2 separate regions of the Homo sapiens genome follow, and region 1 is linked to region 2. Evidence: promoter capture Hi-C in human tissues and cell types (Jung and others, 2019). All regions are on one chromosome and are shown on one strand. The core of a region is centred on a gene start or on the middle of the fragment in contact, and the rest is flanking DNA. Distances in the headings are between cores, read along the strand shown.

Region 1 (4,864 bases), core at 225-2,724, 50 kb after region 2:
TTCCAGAGAGGGATCTGTCCTGAGAAAAGTTTTTCTGACCAGGAGTTGGGGGTCTGGTGTATGATGTGGGGACATCGTAGAGTTTGGAAGGTATGGTGATGGTTGCATGTCAAAAGGGTCTTCTACTTGGAATGCTGAAATTATCAAGAGTGGGTGGAAGGGACTAGGGAGGAGATAAGACCGTGAATCTATAAGCCCAGTGAAGCTGGGACCAGTGATGAATGGACATGTGTCCAAGAAGGGAAGTGTTTCTCAGGTGAAGCTGATCATATCACCAAACTCACCCTATCCCACTCCAAGTTTCTATAGTGGGATCTATTCTTTTTCCAAAAATTTCAGAGGTGACTTTCATTAATACAGAATATTTGGGTTTCATTGAAATAGTACTCTGGGATGTGAAAAACCAAATTCACACACCAATGAATTTGGTTTCTAAATCCATTAAGGGAGCCATCCTTTTTTTTTTTTTTTTCTTGAGACTGAGCCTCGTTCTGTCGCCCAGGCTGGAGGGCAGTGGCCGGATCTCCGCTCACTGCAACCTTCACCTCCCGGGTTTAAGAAATTCTCCCACCTCAGTCTCCTGAGTAACTGGGACTGCAGGCATGTGCCACTGCTCCTGGCAATTTTTTTTTTTTTTTTTTTAGTAGAGATGAGGTTTCGCAATGTTAGCCAGGCTGGTCTTGAACTCCTGACCTCATGTGATCTGCCCGCCTCGGCCTCCCAAAGTGCTGGGATTACAGGCAAGAGCCACCAAGCCCAGTGAGGGAGCCATCTTTCTTGTGAGAGAATTGAGCCCTTTTTTGTCATATTCACTGAATTTATATGAACTTCCATGAGTTTAGGTCCTTTGTATTCTTATTTCTGTACTTCTTTTTATTAGTGTAGGTATTATTGCAAAGGACACTAAACTTTATTTTTGTTTTTGATCAAACCACAAGATATTTGTTCTACTGGTTTTCTTTTCCCCTTATGCAATGTAGTTACTGAATTGTAAAAAATATATATGTTCTTTAGCTTTGTAAAAATGTGGAAAATTAGGAAGGCATTTGAATAGTGATTGTGGCTCTTTTCTTGTGGTTTTTCACTATGAATATATTCTTTAGACTGAACTGCACTGGCTCAAATCTTCACTCTCATTTTTCTAGCTATGTGACCTAGGACAGGTACCCTAAGCATTGTGGTTTTAATGTTGTTATAGTGAGCACCCAATAAATATTATCTGTTATCATTCTTATTATTTTAGTTTAATTGCATTTATTTTATGCTGAATTTCTTCCAGAGCCATAGGTAAATTTTTTCTTCAGTTTCTTCTGGGATATCTTTTTCTTCTGTGCAACCTCATCCTCAGGTTTAGGAACAATTTGTTCCTTATCAGTAAAGATCATCTTGAATGTGGCAGTGGGGGGTCATGTAAGGGTTAATCCAATAATGAGCTCTGCAAGACGCATGGCTCATCTTGGATGCTTTGTTTACTTGGATAAGCTTAATGATGAGAGAATCTACATCTAAATTGTTATATTTAGCATTATTCTCTGCATTTTAAAGCACATGCAGCAAAAATCCAGCACCCTATTTGGGCCACCGACCTTGTGTCCAGCCCCACTGCTCGGCCCTGGGCACACTTGCCAGCCCCTCCATTGCAATATCGAAATGGTGCACACTGCTTCCATAAAGTGACATCCTTCAGACACTTGGTGGCTCTTTGTATATGCATACATTGATGGCCTGGGTAGTTTCACGAATGTCCTTTAAGTGAACAGGAAAACTGAAACCTCTTGAATTGCATGATTTTGTGGTGTTTCTGGGTCAAGTGAATAAAGAAGAATTTTCACAGATCACCTTAGGCCTCTTAGAGGAAGAGCTATCATCATCATTAGTAGAGTTTAAGACTCCTGCAGGACAAGATGTGTCACCTGGAGACCTTTGCCATGTTCGTGCCAATTTACTGAGTGCATGAAAGATCATTTACACCAAAATCTTTATCATGTATTATCTGTGACAGACACGCCATTATCATTTTTATTACATTGATTTCCTTTGTTATTTTGTCACCCTTACTTACTTGGTTTGGTTGACCCTTAGATTTGAAATTTTTCTACAAATATACAAGACTAAAGTTGAAATCTTACGTTTCTTCTCCCTCTCTTTCTCCTTGATTTAAAGTTTATGGATAGGTTGAATTATTTGATTGGTCTTCTCAAAGAAATAACTGTGGAATTTGTATATTCTTTTCACTGTTTCATTTTCCGTTTCGTTAATTGCAGCTTATTTTTGCCTTAATGATTTCATCCTAGTTTCTTTTGGTTGATTTGTAGCTGCTTTTGCAACTTCGTTAGAGGACTATTACACTTCTTTACATTTGATTTTTCTTAATGAAGCATTGAGGGCTCGAGTAAAAGATTTCTTTTACTTAGGTTTTGGTAAAAATTGCTGTTCTTTTCATTGCTTTTAGATAATTTAAATATCAGTTTTTAAATTTCTCCTTTGATGCAGTGACTGTCTATAAGGCTGTTACCTAATTCTGATATTGTTAATAATTTTGTAGTCATCTCCCTCTTATTTTTTCAAGTTATTTTGTATTATAATAAGAATGTTTCTTTTTTTTTTTTTTGAAGGAAAAAATAAATTTATTGCTCATTAAGTGGAAGTGGATCATCATAAAGGTCTTCATCCTCATTGTCTCCATGCTGAGTGGGCTGAGGAGGAGGAGGAAGGGGAGGGATTGGTCCTGCTGTCTCAGCGTGGCAGAGGCAGAAGAGGATGAGAAGGTGGAAGGGCCAGCGGGAGAGGCAGGCACACTCGGTGTAACTTTATGGAAATATATCATCATTTTTGTTTGACTTTTTTCCTTTCTCATTTCTCTGAAAATGTTTCTGTACAGTACCAATTCTTCTTCCACCATTTGCTTTAGTTTCAGTGCCCAAACCATAGAAGGGTCCATGTGGTAAAAAAAGTCAAAACTGACTTTTTTTTTTTTTTTTGAGTTGGAGTCCTGCTGTCACCCAGGCTGGAGTGCAATGGCACGATGTTGGCTCACTGCAACCTCTGCCTCCCAGGTTCAAGCAATTCTCCTGTCTCAGCCTCACAAGTAGCTAGGACTACAGGCACACGTCACCACACCTGGCTAATTTTTGTACTTTTAGTAGAGATGGGGTTTCACCATACTGGTCAGGCTGGTCTCGAACTCCTGACCTCAGGTGATCCACCCGCCTCAGCCTCCCAAAGTGCTAGGATTCCAGGTGTGAGCCACTGCACCTGGTCAACAATCTTTTTTTTTTTTTTTTTTTTAATTTATTTTTTTATTGATAATTCTTGGGTGTTTCTCACAGAGGGGGATTTGGCAGGGTCATGGGACAATAGTGGAGGGAAGGTCAGCAGATAAACAAGTGAACAAAGGTCTCTGGTTTTCCCAGGCAGAGGACCCTGCGGCCTTCCGCAGTGTTTGTGTCCCTGATTACTTGAGATTAGGGATTGGTGATGACTCTTAACGAGCATGCTGCCTTCAAGCATCTGTTTAACAAAGCACATCTTGCACCGCCCTTAATCCATTTAACCCTGAGTGGACACAGCACATGTTTCAGAGAGCACAGGGTTGGGGGTAAGGTCACAGATCAACAGGATCCCAAGGCAGAGGAATTTTTCTTAGTGCAGAACAAAATGAAAAGTCTCCCATGTCTACTTCTTTCTACACAGACACGGCAACCATCCGATTTCTCAATCTTTTCCCCACCTTTCCCGCCTTTCTATTCCACAAAGCCGCCATTGTCATCCTGGCCCGTTCTCAATGAGCTGTTGGGCACACCTCCCAGACGGGGTGGTGGCCGGGCAGAGGGGCTCCTCACTTCCCAGTAGGGGCGGCCGGGCAGAGGCGCCCCTCACCTCCCGGACGGGGCGGCTGGCCGGGTGGGGGGGCTGACCCCCCCATCTCCCTCCCGGACGGGGTGGCTGGCCGGGCTGAGGGGCTCCTCACTTCCCAGTAGGGGCGGCCGGGCAGAGGCGCCCCTCACCTCCCGGACGGGGCGGCTGGCCGGGCGGGGGGCTGACCCCCCCACCTCCCTCCCGGACGGGGCGGCTGGCCAGGCGGGGGGCTGACCCCCCCCACCTCCCTCCCGGACGGGGTGGCTGCCGGGCGGAGACGCTCCTCACTTCCCAGATGGGGTGGCTGCCGGGCGGAGAGGCTCCTCACTTCTCAGACAGGGCAGCTGCCGGGCGGAGGGGCTCCTCACTTCTCAGACGGGGCGGCCGGGCAGAGACGCTCCTCACCTCCCAGATGGGGTCTCGCCGGGCAGAGGCGCTCCTCACATCCCAGATGGGGCGGCGGGGCAGAGGCGCTCCCCACATCTCAGACGATGGGCGGCCGGGCAGAGACGCTCCTCACTTCCTAGATGTGATGGCGGCTGGGAAGAGGCGCTCCTCACTTCCTAGATGGGATGGCGGCCGGGTGAAGACGCTCCTCGCTTTCCAGACTGGGCAGCCAGGCAGAGGGGCTCCTCACATCCCAGACGATGGGCGGCCAGGCAGAGACACTCCTCACTTCCCAGACGGGGTGGCGGCCGGGCAGAGGCTGCAATCTCGGCACTTTGGGAGGCCAAGGCAGGCGGCTGGGAGGTGTAGGTTGTAGTGAGCGGAGATCACGCCACTGCACTCCAGCCTGGGCACCATTGAGCACTGAGTGAACGAGACTCCGTCTGCAATCCCGGCACCTCGGGAGGCCGAGGTTGGCGGATCACTCGCGGTTAGGGGCTGGAGACCGGCCCGGCCAAACAGCAAAACCCGGTCTCCACCAAAACCAGTCAGGCGTGGCGGCGCGCGCCTGCAATCGCAGGCACTCGGCAGGCTGAGGCAGGAGAATCAGGCAGGGAGG
Region 2 (5,281 bases), core at 1,766-4,265:
TAGCCTGTGACAGTTTTTCAGAGTTTCCTTGGTTTTGATTACTTTGTCAGTTTTGAGCAATTCTGGTGAGGTATTCTGTAGAATGTTCCTCAGTTTGAGTTTGTCTGATGTTTTGATTATGGTAACACAGGGGTTATAGGTTTTTAGGAGGAAGACCACAAGGTAATGTGTTTTCCCGCTTTCTTGCGAATGGATACCCAACTGTTGAAGAGTCATCTTTTCCCCACAGAATTGCCTGTGCACCTTTGAAAAAACTTGGTTGCTCATACTTCTATTTCTGGGTATTCTATTCTGTTCCAATGATCTTTTTGTGAAATATTTGATTACTATAGATTTGTAATAAGTCTTGAAATTAGGTAATAATTGCTCTCCATTTTTTTTTCTATTTTTTAAAAGTTATTTTTGCTATTGTAGGTCTTTTACATTTCCCTATGAATTTTAGAATCAGTTTGCCAATTTGTACAAAAAGATAGCCTGCTGGAATTTAGATTGGGGTTGTATTAAATTTATAGATCAACTAAGGAAAAATAACATTTTAACAATTTTGAGTTTTCTGATTCATGAACATATCTATTTATTCAGGTCTCTCACCAATGTTTTGTTGTTTTCAGTGTACAATCTTTCACATCTTTTGTCAGATTTATCTGTTAGTATTTTTTATTTTTGATGCTATTTAGGTGCTGTTTTCATTCCAATTTTCAATTGTTCATTGCTAGTACATTTGACCCTTGAAGAATGTGAGGATTGAGGTACCAACCCCCGAGCAGTAAAAAATTAGCATAGAAAGGTTTTGTGGGTTTCTTTTTGTTTTTTATTTTTGAGACAGAGTCGTGCTGTTTTGCCCGGGCTGGAGTATAATGGCGTGATCTCAGCTCAATGCAACCTCCGCTTCCCGGGTTCAAGTGATTCTCCTGCCTCAGCCTCCAGAGTAGCTGGGATTACAGGCATGCACCACCACCTGCAGCTAATTTTTTGCATTTTTAGTAGAGATAGGGTTTCACCATGTTGGCCAGGCTGGTCTCCAACTCCTGGCCTCCCGTGATACGCCCACCTTGACCTCCCAAAGTGCTGGGACTACAGGTGTGAGCCACCACGCCCAGCACACATAGAATTTTTGACTCCCTAAAAATTTAACTATTAATAGCCTACTGTGCACTAGAAGCCTTACCAATAACAGAAACAGTTGCTTAACACATATTTGGCATGTTATATGTGTTATATACTGTATTATCATAATGAAGTCAGCTAGAGAAAAGAAAATGTTATTAAGAAAATCTTAAGGAAGAGAAAATTAAGTATTCATTAAGTGGAAGTGGATCATGATAAAGGTCTTCCTCTTGATTGTCCTCCATTGAGTAGGCTGAGAAGGAGGAAGAGGTGGGTTGGTTTTGCTGTTTCAGGGGTGGCAGAGGGGGAAGAAGTGGAGGAAGAAGGAGGAGAGACAGGTACACTTGGTGTAACTTTACAGAATTACATCATAATTATTATTTGACTTTTTTGCCTTTGCAATTCTTTGAAAATGCTTTTTTACAGTACTAGTCCTTCTTCCCCATTTGCTTTAGTTTCAGTGCCCATTCATGGAAGGGTTTGTGTTGTAAAATAAGTCAAAAGTAGTCTTAATAATTGGAAGCCTTTGCCAAACTGTTTAATAGGAATTTGTTTTCTGGCATGGCTTCTTCTATGTCTTCTTTAGTATCTGGTACTGATTCAAAAGCACTCATCTCCATCAAGTCATCTTCTGTTGATTCCTCTGGTGTGGTGTCTATTCATTCTTGAATTTCTCACAGATTCATATCTTGAAAGACCATATCCCCCACCTTTTGTTGCTGAATTAGAGATGTTGGGTTTGCAGGCAAGTAGACCACTTTGACACCTTCAGTGTTGAACTCATGGGTTCTGGGTGGCTAGGGGCATTGTCCAAAAATCAAAAGAACTTTGAAAGACCGTCTCTTACTGGCAAGATATTACCTGACTTCAGGGACAAAGTAATGATAGAACCAATCCAGAAAAAGTGTTCTTGCCGAGGCCTTCTTGTACAACAAAAAAACTGGCAGTGGGTATTGATCTTTTCCCTTTAAGGCTTGGAGGCTAGCAGGCTTATGGATGGGGGCAGTCCTATTTGTAAACCCAAACATACAAACATACAAACTATGTCAAAGGCATAGCATGGGTACTGTGAAAGGAGGGTGAAAACACAAAGTTGACATCACCTCTGACCTCAAGGAGTGCTCAGCAGACTGAGAGAGACAAGTACATATTTTCCTGAAGGAGGGCACTGGAGTGATGGCGTGTTTAGAATGTGCAAGTTGAGCGGTCACTGAGAGGCAGCTCAGCAGAGTGCTCTCGCAAGGATTGGGCGGGCAACTTCCCACTGCGTGCGATGTATCTTAGGAAAGCCATTTAAAATAGGAGACGGTTACTTTCCATCAAGTCCCTGGTATGGTCCATGGAAGCAGGGTTGTCAGTCTCATTTCAGCATTTTAGAGGCTTCTCAGGGTTTGGAAATGGAAGAAGAGAAGCAGCAATATGTATGCATTGCAGAGACACAGGCGAGCCCCAATTTAGGAGGTTAGGAGGTCAGTGCTAAGGGCCTTGTTTTCTTTGCTTAGAGCATGAGTTGCCATCTTCTCTGGACAGAGAGTATTTGGTTGCCTAAAGGTAAAATCTAAATTTTGCTCTGGGACAAATTCCAAAAAAAATTAGCTTTAATCAAATTTACTTTTACTTTATCTTTCTGAACCTTCAAGGTCCAAAAGCATTGGTTAATAATTCTGCTTCTAAACTTAACATTGCAGCACAGGGCATGTTCTGCCCCCAAGGCAAAGACCATAAGCTACTGTTGTCTGGAAAACATACAAATAGATATCTCAGCAAAAGCTACTCATATATTCTTGTTCTTTTGGGTAAATCATTGTCAGTGACTGATTTTTTTTTTATGAAAGGATAAAAACACGCCCTCTATTGGGGTCAGGTTTTGTGCTGGTATTTCTCCCACCTACTGTATCATAGGAGCTTAGATTCCCAGCTGCTTGCTCTCAGCTGCAGTTCTCTGATGGCTTGCACAGGGTGGACCAGCCCCCTTCCTCTATGTGTGTGTCTGCTGCTGACCTGTGGCTTTGCCGAGGCAGGGAAGCTACTGGTAGTGCCCATGGATGGGAGCCACTGGTTCACCATGAGGTCGGTGGTGGAGAAACTCATTCTCAGGGGGCATGAGGTGGTTGTAGTCATGCCAGAGGTGAGTTGGCAACTGGGAAGATCACTGAATTGCACAGTGAAGACTTATTCAACTTCATATACCCTGGAGGATCTGGACCGGGAGTTCAAGGCTTTTGCCCATGCTCAATGGAAAGCACAAGTACGAAGTATATATTCTCTATTAATGGGTTCATACAATGACATTTTTGACTTATTTTTTTCAAATTGCAGGAGTTTGTTTAAAGACAAAAAATTAGTAGAATACTTAAAGGAGAGTTCTTTTGATGCAGTGTTTCTCGATCCTTTTGATAACTGTGGCTTAATTGTTGCCAAATATTTCTCCCTCCCCTCCGTGGTCTTCGCCAGGGGAATACTTTGCCACTATCTTGAAGAAGGTGCACAGTGCCCTGCTCCTCTTTCCTATGTCCCCAGAATTCTCTTAGGGTTCTCAGATGCCATGACTTTCAAGGAGAGAGTACGGAACCACATCATGCACTTGGAGGAACATTTATTATGCCACCGTTTTTTCAAAAATGCCCTAGAAATAGCCTCTGAAATTCTCCAAACACCTGTTACGGAGTATGATCTCTACAGCCACACATCAATTTGGTTGTTGCGAACGGACTTTGTTTTGGACTATCCCAAACCCGTGATGCCCAACATGATCTTCATTGGTGGTATCAACTGCCATCAGGGAAAGCCGTTGCCTATGGTAAGTTATCTCTCCTTTAGCACCTTAAGAATACTTCACCTTTGGAAATTAAAAAAGGATTCTTTACTGAACTGTGATTTGACATTTTCATTTGTTTCATTTCAAATTTCTTTCCAGTTTAACAAATTATTTTGTGCCAATGCGTGTACTCGTCAGTAGCAAATTTTATAAAACTGCCCTTCTTGAAGATATGTATTTATAACTTATAAAATTGTGGAACATATTCAGCCTACATTTTTAAGTACCATGTTTAGAAAAGTACCAAAAACCACAGTAAGAAATGAAACTTCCCTTTTTTGTTAATTCTATATGCCCGCCCCAGAGGAAATGGTCTTAGTTTTGTGAACATTCTTTTAATGTTTTTAAAAAAGTACTTTAGGTATATACAATATCTAATGTAAATTCTCACACCTATTTTGTTAAAATAAAATCTAGTATTGGGCTGGACATATTCTTCTTTTCTTTGCATTTTTCACTTGCCAATAAATTATAAATACCTTTATAGACCAATACAGACAGATTTGACAAGTTCTATTAATAATTGCATAAAATACTTTACTTTGGATGCAATGTAGTTTTTAACCAATTAATATTGATATAGATTTAGGCATTTTGCATTTTTTGTCTTTATGAATAGGGCCGTGTAAACACTCTTTAATACTTTCCTTACATGAATATATTTCCATATTCTTGCTTTTATCTTAGTTGACTAGAGCCCTACATGTAGGGTTACAGGATTTCCATGAATTGAGAAGGATTGGCATTTTTTTGCTATTGTGTCTTCCTGTTCAGGAATATGTATGTCTCACTATTTATTCAGATCTTGTTTTATATACATAAATAAAATTTTTCACTATATAAGCATTTTCTGTTTCTTATTAACATTTATTCCTCAGCATTTCATTATTTTTGAAACTATTGGGTACAGGACAATTTTTCCATTTCTACATGTAACTGACTATGGGTAATTAAGGTTTTGTTTTTTGCATATGTATCTTGTATCCAGCCACATTACTAACTTATCTTATTATTTTGTAGTATACAGTAGATGTACAATATACAATGTCAACTGCAAAGAATTCCCTTCTCTGATATTTATACCACTTATTTTGCTTTGCTGGAGCTTATACTTCCAAAGCACTATTGAGTAATATTGTGAGAGTAGCCAGTTTAAATTTTAAATAGGGATTCAATCACTTGTGATTGAAAAGTCCATGACAAATACCAGAATAACATTCTTAGCAAATGTGTAGTTGGCTGAATCCAGATTAAACACCTAATGTCTAATCTCAGTATATTATTTTGGAGGGATGGAGTATACAATTTATCTATTGTTCTGGCTCCTTACAAGGTTCAGTAGACTTGGTAACACAG

What was found. The method cuts DNA at HindIII sites, captures the fragments that hold promoters and counts their contacts. A contact is called where the count stands out against the background at its distance.
Region 1: a contact is called between a fragment that was not itself captured here and the fragment with the promoter of UGT1A9 in region 2, in 1 of the 25 tissues and cell types used here (liver).

Annotation. Positions count from the first base shown.
Region 1 is chr2:233,720,249-233,725,112 of GRCh38, forward strand. All of the region lies in intron 1 of UGT1A8 (UDP glucuronosyltransferase family 1 member A8), which reads left to right. All of the region lies in intron 1 of UGT1A10 (UDP glucuronosyltransferase family 1 member A10), which reads left to right. The region is part of intron 1 of UGT1A9 (UDP glucuronosyltransferase family 1 member A9); the gene reads left to right. The region is part of intron 1 of UGT1A7 (UDP glucuronosyltransferase family 1 member A7); the gene reads left to right. It also overlaps UGT1A6, UGT1A5, UGT1A4, UGT1A and the pseudogene RPL17P11. Among named protein-coding and RNA genes, the nearest start is that of UGT1A4, 3.9 kb to the left of the region's middle. The HindIII fragment of the contact is 5,054 bases long and covers 1-4,001 here.
Region 2 is chr2:233,668,883-233,674,163 of GRCh38, forward strand. It overlaps UGT1A9 (UDP glucuronosyltransferase family 1 member A9), which reads left to right and starts at 3,016. Exons shown (of 5, transcript NM_021027.3): 1 at 3,016-3,907. The coding sequence starts at 3,053. The region is part of intron 1 of UGT1A8 (UDP glucuronosyltransferase family 1 member A8); the gene reads left to right. All of the region lies in intron 1 of UGT1A10 (UDP glucuronosyltransferase family 1 member A10), which reads left to right. It also overlaps UGT1A. The HindIII fragment of the contact is 24,288 bases long and covers 1-5,281 here.